2 separate regions of the Homo sapiens genome follow, and region 2 is linked to region 1. The links are contacts of gene promoters, found by promoter capture Hi-C in blood cells and fetal thymus (Javierre and others, 2016). All regions are on one chromosome and are shown on one strand. Each heading gives the region's core, a stretch centred on a gene start or on the middle of the fragment in contact. The rest is flanking DNA. Distances are from core to core; before and after follow the strand shown.

Region 1 (4,818 bases), core at 1,775-4,274:
CCCATAATAACCGCCTTCCCCCTCCCCCCACCTCGCTGAGGCAGGCCTGCAGACACACATGTGCAGGAGAGGCACATGCCCCAGCAGATCAGAGGGAGGAGCCGGGGGAGCTGGCACCCCACCTGCCCAGCTCATCCACTGCACCTCCTCTCTGAAAGGTAGAGGGCCTAGGCACAGGCTGGCGACGGGGGAGAGGCCCTGCTGTCTTCCTTGGGGACTGAGGGCTGGAAACAATGCCTTCAGGCAGGTTTCCTGAGTCTAAAGATATACCTGCACCCCTAGCTGCTTTCCCAGTTGGTCACTCAATAGAGAAGGAGCACACCAGGCACAGTGGCTCACTTTGGGAGGCCGAGGCAGGAGGATGGCTTGACCCCAGGAGTTCAAGACCAGCCTGGGTAACATAGCAAGACCCCGTCTCTATTTTTAAAAATTAAAAAAAAAAAAAGTTTTAATAGAGAAGGAGCAAGAGTCCCCTGTGTCTCTGCTGGAGGTGAGTGCTGAGGGTGGGGACAGCTTTTAAGGGGGAAAGTGGACCCAGCACCTGCCTTGGGGAGATAATTCCACAGAAGAGACAAGCAAACACATACAAACCATTCAACAAATCAGGACCAGAACTAAGCCCCTCAAGTGATACTGACAGTAAGGGTGTGGTGGGAGGAGCCAGCATTCCAGAAGACCAGGATGGTCTAGGAAGGTTTCCTGGAGGAGGTTTTGAGGAAGGGGCCGGGTACCTCTAGGCAGCCTCTGCTCACAGGATTCCCCGACTGCATCACCGGGGTGGAAATCGGGGGCCAGGGGGGTGACTCCCCTGTTCTATATGGGCTCCAAGTGCCAGGCCTGGCTCTGAGCAGATCCTGTCCCTTTCACCCTGTCTGGTGTTGGGGAGACAGCGAGAGTGCATGGGGCCCCGGCACTGCTCCCCATTTTTAGGGCTCCCCTCTGCCTCTGTGAGGTGGTGGCAGGACACAGAACTCCCTCCCACAGGGAGCAGGGCCTGGGCCAGGGGCAGTTCCAGTGTGAGTTTTTCCACTCCCAATATTCTTGCCCAGTGAATCTGGCTTAAAAGCAGCCTCAAGGTCACTGTAAAGGGAAGAGATTCCGTCAGAGTCAGAGCCCAGCACGTGCTGCGCCTGGGTAAGGGTGAGTGGGAAATGCAGAGGCCTCGTGGGGCCTTGCTCAGCCTGACAGGGCCCCTAAAGTGCAAAGACTAGGGTGAACACCCCAACGCCCTGTCTTTTCTTTTTTTCCTTTTTTTTTTTTTGCAACAGAGTCTCGCGCTCTGTCATCCAGGCTGGAATGCAATGGTGTGATCTCAGATCACTGCAACCTCTACCTCCCAAGTTCAAGCAATTCTGCCTCAGCCTCCTGAGTAGCTGGGATTACAGGTGCCTGCCACTATGCCTGGCTAATTTTTGTTTTTTTGTTTTTGTTTTTGTTTTGAGACGGAGTCTTGCTCTGTCACCCAGGCTGGAGTACAGTGGCTTTATCTTGGCTCACTGCAACCTCTGCCTCCCGGGTTCAAGTGATTATCCTGCCTCAGTCTCCTGAGTAGCTGGGATTATAGGCATACGCTACCACTCCCGGCTAATTTTTGTATTGTCAGTAGAGACGAGGTTTCACCATGTTGGTCAGGCTGGTCTCAAACTCCTGACCTTGTGATTTGCCCGCCTCAGCCTCCCAAAGTGCTGGGATTACAGGCATGAGCCACTGTGCCCAGCCCATGCCCTGTCTTTTCAAGCTTTCTGCACATACCAAGACCCCCAGCCCAGCTCACTCAGACAAAGCTACTGGCGGGAAAGTGTGAGGAAGGGTGTGGGCGTGGCCCAGGCCCTCCTCTTCTCTCTGCCGTATACTGATAGGGCTGCCCCGCCCCCCCCCGCCCCCCCGCGACTCAGCCACGAGAGGTCATCCTTGCTCCAGCACAGACCCCTAAGAACCCTCACTCGGAACAGGACTTTGGGAAAGGTGGTTTCTATAAATAGATGAGTAAATAAATTGACAGTTGAATATACCAAGCGTCCTGGGGACCGCAGGAGGAACTGTGTACAGATGGCTTGAAGGCCAGAGGCTTGGGTTGTTGTCCTGGCCCTGCCACTGGCCAGCTGTTTGACCTTGAACAAGTCAGTTCCACTCTGTGGACTTCAGGGTCCTCACCCAGAAGAAGAGCAGCCATATGGTCTCTACTGCCTGGTAAACACCCTGGCTCACTCTCGCGAGACGGTGGTTCTCAAAGTGTAGTGTGTAGTCCACACAACACCTGCATTGCAACCACTGGGTATTTATTTATTTATTTATTTAATTTATTTATTTATGACGGAGTCTCACTCTGTCGCCCAGGATGGAGTGCAGTGGCACGATCTTGGCTTACTGCAACCTCTGCCTCCTGGGTTCAAGTGATTCTCATGCCTCAGCCTCCCGAGTAGCTGGGACTACAGGTGCCTGCCACATCACCCGGCTAATTTTTTGTATTTTTAGTAGAGATGAGGTTTCACCATGTTGGCCATGCTGGTCTCGAACGCCTGACCTCAAGTGATCTGCCCACCTCGGCCTCCCAAAGTGCTGGGGTTACAGGCGTAAGCCACCGCGCCTGGCCAAGGGAAGTTTTTTTCTTTTCTTTTTTTCTTTTTTCTTTTCTTTTCCTTCTTTTTTTTTTTTTTTTTTTTTTTTTTTTTTTTTTTTAACACAGGTTTCTGAGCCTCAATTCCAGATCAGCTGAGCCTGGAGTTTCTGAAGACAAGGGCTAGAAATCTGCACTTTAAAGTCTTGAAAACCACTGTGTGCCTTCATCTAAGCTGCCCCTGCTTCTCTCCCCTCCATCCCTCGCCTGGCCCTGTCCTCCCTACTCTCCCCTGCACCCTCCCCCGCCCCAAGCTCCCCACAAACGGCCAAAGCAGCAGTGTGAGGCAATCGCTCTATCCTTGACCCCTTCCTTTGCACAGTGAGTGATGGCGTTTTTATCTCCTGATGATGATGCACAGCCTTCAGCGGGGGACATTTAAGACGCAGAACACCAGGTCCAGGCTGCAGCTGCGGGACTCAGAGGCGAAGCTTGAGGGGCTCAGGAAGGACGAAGAACCACCCTTGAGAGAAGAGGCAGCAGCAGCGGCGGCAGCAGCAGCGGCAGCGACCCCACCACTGCCACATTTGCCAGGAAACAATGCTGCTAGCGACATTCAAGCTGTGCGCTGGGAGCTCCTACAGACACATGCGCAACATGAAGGGTGAGCGCTGCGGGAAGGAGGCGATGAGGGGTTGGCCAGCTCTCAGCGGATGAGGCTCAGGCCACCCAATTCTGATCCTAGTTGTGCCTCTTACTGGGTGAACCTGGGCAAGTTTCTTCCCTTCTTGAATCTCAGTTTTCCCCTCGGAAGAAGTGGGCTGGTTACTAAGATATATCCCTTCCAGATTCTATAATTTCTGGTCTCCCCTCCAGGACTCCAATCTTTTTTTCTCCTTTTCTTTCATTTTTATTCTTTTTCTTTCTTCCTTCCCTCCTTCCTTTCCTTTCTTTCTTCCTTTCTTCCTTCCCCTTTTCCTTCATTCGTTCTTTTTTTCTTCCGCCTTTTCTTTTTTTTTTGTTTGAATAAAGGTCTCTGTCACAGAGGCTGGAGTACAGTAGAACAATCATAGCTCACTGCAGCCTCAAACTCATGGGCTCAAGCCATCCTCCCACCTCAGCCTCTTGAGTACCTGGGACTACAGGCGTGCACCACCACAACCAGCTAGTTTTATTTATTTATTTTTATTTTTATTTTTTTTAGAGACAATGTCTTGCTATATTGGTCACGCTGGTCTTGACCCCCTGGGCTCAAGGGATTCTCCCACCTTGGCCTCCCAAAGTGCTGGGATTACAGGTGTGAGCCGCCACACCTGGCTTACTTTATTTTGAGATGGAGTCTCACTCTGTTGCCCAGCCTGGAGCGCAGTGGCACGATCTCGGCTCACTGCAACCTCCGCCTCCTGGGTAGCTGGGATTACAGGTGCATGCCACCACGCCTGGCTAGTTTTTGTATTTTTAGTAGAGACAGGGTTTCGCCACGTCGACCAGACTGGTCTTGAACTCCTGACCTCAGGTGATCTGCCTCCCAAACTGCTGGGATTATAGGCATGAGCCATGGCGCTCAGCCTATTTTATTTTTGAGGCAGTCTCGCTCTGTTGCCTAGGCTGGAGTGCACTGGCGCTATCTTGGCTCACTGCAGCCTCTGCGTCCTGGGTTCAAGCAATTCTCCTGCCTCAGCCTCCTGAGTGGCTGGGACCACAGGCGTGCACCACCATGCCTGGCCATCTTTCTTGAACTATTCCTGACTTTGCCTTCCTTCAGAGCTGGACAAGTCTTGTAGCAGGGGTACACAGGAAAGTCTTGCCCACAGTGGCAGAGTAAATATTAGACTTGACTCCCACAGGCAAAAAAAGACGGAGAAGAGACATAGGGGAGTAAGACAGGAGGGCAAGGTAAAGAGATAAGACGGAAGACTGATTATCATTGAATAGCCAGGAAGGGGCAGAAACCAGCTACAAGAGGCCACTTTTGTAGAGCTGATTCGCATCCAAGGTCATTTGAATCAATCCCCTGCTGCCACTGAAGGGTACACAAGTCAATCTAGGCACGATCTTTCCAATTACACTGGATTGAATTAGCTACCTTTAGAGCGAGAAGCCATGCTTAGATCTGCAGCTGGCAGTGGTGTTGTCGTCCTCACTAGATGGACAGGGCTTCCCTGGCCCAGAATCCAGGGGCACACAGAGTAGCTTATGCATGCAAGCACACAGACTCACAGAAGCACAGATTCATGCAATCAGATTCTGGCAAGCACACA
Region 2 (4,723 bases), core at 1,908-4,407, 290 kb after region 1:
AAAAATCATCTGTGATATGGAAAAAGTTGGATGTACATTTGAGTGTATGTCATTATCACAACTATGTAAAAGGAAAAGTCCAGGGTAAGAATCCTGGTGAGAAATACATGACAATGGGCACCATTCTTTCTTGCATTTGTGGGTATTTTCTCTGTGCTTCTTCTTCTCCAAGGCCATTACTCACTTTTTATGATGCTGGCTTATTTATAATTTTTTTTTTTTTTTGAGATGGGGTCTCGCACTGTTGCCCATGCTGGAGTGCAGTGGCACGATCTTGGCTCACTGCAACCTCCGCCTCCCGAGTTCAAGCGATTCTCCTGCCTCAGCCTCCCGAGTAGCTGGGACTACAGGTGCCCGCCACCATGCCTGGATAATTTTTTGTATTTTTAGTAGAGAAGAGGTTTCACCATGTTGGCCAGGTTGGTCTCAAACTCCTGACCTCATGATCCGCCCACTTCAGCCTCCCAAAGTGCTGGGATTACAGATGTGAGCCACCATGCCTGGCCCTGTTTTATAATTTTTAAATATTGCAAAACTAGGCTCTTCTAATGATTTTCAAGTCCTTTATATCCTTTTTCCCTTTCAATTACAGAATCCAAATTAAATAGCTGTTTGACGGTTCGTATGAAGTACCTTAAGTGTGTACACATTTTCAATTCTAGGCATTTATCTTAAGGAAGTACTTAGAGATATGGCCAAAGATTTATGTTCGTGCATTTTGATAAAAATGTTATATATAATTGTACAAATTGAAAACAACATAAATATCCAGCAATAGAGGAATAGTTAAAATATAATGAGATTTTAAGCATCCATTAGAAAAGCAAGTTTTGCTAAAATGTTATGATGGAAAAAATGCTTATTAAATAGTAAAAAGCTGTAAAACTATTATTTTGTATGAGGCTGACATTATAAAACATATCATCAAGAACCCCAGGAAGGCCGGGCTCAGTGGCTCATGCCTGTAATCCCAGCACTTTGGGAGGCTGAGGCAGGTGGATCACTTGAGGTCAGGAGTTCAAGACCAGCCTGGCCAACATGGTGGAACCCTGTCTCTACTAAAAATACAAAAATTAGCTGGATGTGGTGGCAGGTGCCTGTAATCCCAGCTACTCGGGAGGCTGAGGCAGGAGAAGCACTTGAACCTGGGAGGCAGAGGTTGCAGTGAGCCGAGATCGTGTCACTGCACTCCAGCCTGGGTGTCACAGTGAGAATCTGTCTCAAAAAAAGAAAAAAAAAAAAAAGAATCCCAGGAAAAATAAAGAGACCCAAATGTTAGGTGTTGGAATTAATTATATGACACCCTACAGGTGTCAGCCTCTGCATCCCTCTCTCTTTCAAACTCCATGCAGAGTATCTTATGTATTGAGACTTTTAAAAAATAAATAAATAAGATCCTTATATGACAGAGATATAATCTAAAATCCCTTGAGGACGTATTCTTTGCCATTATTTACAAAGGTGACTCTTTTTTCTTGATATAAAATGTAAGGCTGGGTGTGGTGGCTCATGCCTGTAGTCGCAGCATTTTGGGAGGCCAAGGTGGGAGGATCACTTGAGCTTGGGTTTGAGACCAGTCCAGGCAACATAGAGAGATCCCGTCTCTATGGGGAAAAAAAAAAAAAAAAGGCATTAAGTACATTCACATTGTTGTGTAATCAATCGCTAGGGCTCTTTTCCAGACTTGCGACTTTTCAATGAAATATTGTTTTGGAAGTCACATCTACAGTGACTGAGGTCCAGAGGAGGTGCATCGTGAATGCATGCCTTCAAAGTTTTAAAAAACAAAGATTAGGGGAGAAGCAGGTTTTGGAAAAGCAGTCCAGTGTCTCACCTCTAAATGTGCAGCCTGTGTGGGGTTGAACCCGCTCTGTCTATGGAAACGTTGGTGTTGTGTGTCTAAGTTAGTACCGCCATCATCTTGCTTTTGTTCCTAGCCAGGATGGGAGGGCTGGGATCCCTCCTTTGACTTCTGGCTCGTGTCCAGGCAGTTTGCGTCACTGACTGAACTGGGGCTCCTATCATGTCACTGAGGAACTAGTGTTGATTCTTGGAGAAGGTAGTCTCTTGGCCTTCCTGGTAGGCAGTGAAACCGTTAGACCCTCAGGGCAGTAAAGCTATTCCTGCCTCAGAGCTCTGCCAGCAAAATCATCTTGATTCTTTAAACATGTAAATCTCAGGCTACAGATTTCAGGAAAAGTCACTTTTTTTTCCTTACTGGGGACTTACACAGCATGTGACTTTTCATTTAAGCTTTACCTTACATCTCCTCCTGGTTCAAGCTGCTTGGGCTTGCAGGGGCCCCAGATCATAAATGCTGATAAAGCACAGTGACTCCGCAGGGTGTGTGCTCTCCTCGGGAGTGGAACACTCAGCTCTGGGACAGGCCGCTGTGTACCCAAGGGCGTGCCTAGACGGCCACGGGTGAGGACGGGGCATGGTGGCACCTGGCTCTGACTCCGCATATTTCTCGAGTATGAAGTGATGTGAAGTGGGGTCCCTGGGTGTCCTCTGCATCCACCTGCTCATTGAGTCCTTCTGAGCGCAGCTTTGGCAGGAGCAGACAGTCTGGGCTGGACCTCGACCTGCTGCCCTGGAAAGAAAGCCCTTGCTCCCTGCACTTGCTGTCACAGCTGTGTCTTCCTGGGCCCCCTCTGGCTTGGGAGTCGTCACCAGCTCTGCACTGGTGTTTGGTTGTGTGAGCTCCTAGTGTTCCCAAAGGAGTGAGCACTCATTTGGAGAACTGAGTCCTCCCATGATGGCACTGCTTAAAATCCAAACCCAGAGTCAAGTCCAGAGGTCCTCGACCTGTGAGGCAAGTATGGTTTTTACATTTTTAAAAGTTCATACAACAAAATAAAACAAAACAAACAGACCAAAAAACCAAGGAAGAACATGTTAACAAAGGCTGTCTGTGGCCCGCAAAGGCTCAAATATGTGCTATCTGGCCCTTTCCAGAAGACTTCATCAGTCAACAACCTGTTTTCACTGTAAATTGAAAACGGATTCCCTGGCTGGGCACGGTGGCTCATGCCTGTAATCCCAGCACTTTGGGAGGCTGAGGCAGGCGGATCACCTGGGGTCAGGAGTTCAAGACCAGCCTGGCCAACATGGTGAAACCTTGTGCCTACTAAAAAAATACAAAAATTAGTCAGGCATGGTGGTGCATGCCTATAGTCCTAGCTACTCAGGAGGCTGAGGTGGGAGAATCACTTGAACCCAGGAGGCGGAGGTTGCAGTGAGCTGAGATCGCGCCACTGCACTCCAGGCTGGGTGACAGAGTGAAACTCAGTCTCAAAAAGAAAGAAAGAAAGAAAGAAAGAAAATGGATTCCCAAGAGACCCAGATCACTAGTCACTTTTTCCTCCTTTGTACTTCTTTTAGGTTTTAGGTTTCTGTGCTAATTTTATAACTCCTTTTTCCCAACTATTTCCCCCCCTCCAAAGAAATACAGCCCCTCGGACCCTGCATTTGCATATGCGCAGCTGACCCACGATGAGCTGATTCAGCTGGTCCTCAAACAGAAGGAAACGATAAGCAAGAAGGAGTTCCAGGTCCGCGAGCTGGAAGACTACATTGACAACCTGCTTGTCAGGGTCATGGAAGAAACCCCCAATATCCTCCGCATCCCGACTCAGGTTGGCAAAAAAGCAGGAAAGATGTAAATCAGCAGAAAAAAAACACCGAGACGTTTCTGTGACTTCACTTTCACCTGCTCCAGGGGTCAAGGACTTGCCTTGCCTGATAACCAGCCAGCAGGCTCCGAATCACCATCTCCCTCACATGTTATCCGGCAAGAGTGAATTCTACCAATGGAAGCCAGGTTAATGATTACAATTAATCTTTTACTGTACATTCCCAAGGCTTTAGTTTTAAATGCCACTGTGCCTTTAACAAGGTTGTAAATATTTTATGCCCACCAGAGATGTGGTCATAAGATCTGATCCTGAGCCAGAGATTCAGATGGCACAGGAAGTATTCATGTATTTTAACACTGGGGTTTTCTTTCTTTCATACTGAGATTTTTTTTCAGTATGTATCCTCCAGCTCTTAAAGCTTACCTGAGAAAGCTTTAAATGAGAAAAGGACCATGCGATTGGTGCTGTGTTACATACACATACTTTCTTGGCTTCTGAGTAGCTCAGGTGTGGCTTTTGGCTGCAGATGTTAAATTTTGATACCATGTAAACCTACCCAGCTTCTCAGACTTGGGTCTTGTTTTTTGATGGGAACAGAGGTGTTTAGAGAAAGCCTCTGAGTATGCCTTTCAGATTTTGAACAAGCGGCCTTTTCTAAACATCGACTTCTACTACTCTCTAGCCTTAAAATACCTTCTGCTTAGATCCAGGGCCCTTCTACTGGAGATAGGAAAAGTAGAATTCAGGAATTAAAAGAATTACTCTTTATTCAATTTGAGGAACTTGGTGAAAGCCCCTCCTCTTATGACAGCCAGGTTCCTGCTGGCTAGACCAGCCTATTCAGCGCTTTGCTAGGGGATTGGGTGGTCCACGCACTCGCTAATACAGTTCTCCAGGTGTGGAATGATGTCAATACGATTGCTTGGCCTTTTCCCCCTGTGCCTTTGCTCGGTGCTCTGGTTTCCTCAGCAACACTCCTTGTAAGGGGCAGAGACAGGGTCCACCAACTCCCCAAGATGAAGAAGCCCCTTCAGGCCAGTCGTGGTGGCTCATGCCTGTAATCCCAGCACTTTGCAAGGCCGAGG

Evidence for each region. The method cuts DNA at HindIII sites, captures the fragments that hold promoters and counts their contacts. A CHiCAGO score of 5 or more calls a contact.
Region 2: a fragment that was not itself captured here is called in contact with the fragment with the promoter of STAR in region 1 in 1 of 17 cell types (megakaryocytes); the score reaches 5.0 in megakaryocytes.

Annotation. Positions count from the first base shown.
Region 1 is chr8:38,149,158-38,153,975 of GRCh38, reverse strand. It overlaps STAR (steroidogenic acute regulatory protein), which reads left to right and starts at 3,024. Exons shown (of 7, transcript NM_000349.3): 1 at 3,024-3,221. The coding sequence starts at 3,158. RefSeq lists enhancers at 1-461, 2,505-2,537, 2,886-3,185 and a promoter at 1,736-3,051. The HindIII fragment of the contact is 1,310 bases long and covers 1,741-3,050 here.
Region 2 is chr8:37,861,837-37,866,559 of GRCh38, reverse strand. It overlaps RAB11FIP1 (RAB11 family interacting protein 1), which reads left to right. Exons shown (of 6, transcript NM_001002814.3): 6 at 3,447-4,723. The coding sequence ends at 3,665. Among named protein-coding and RNA genes, the nearest start is that of BRF2, 14 kb to the right of the region's middle. The HindIII fragment of the contact is 1,803 bases long and covers 2,256-4,058 here.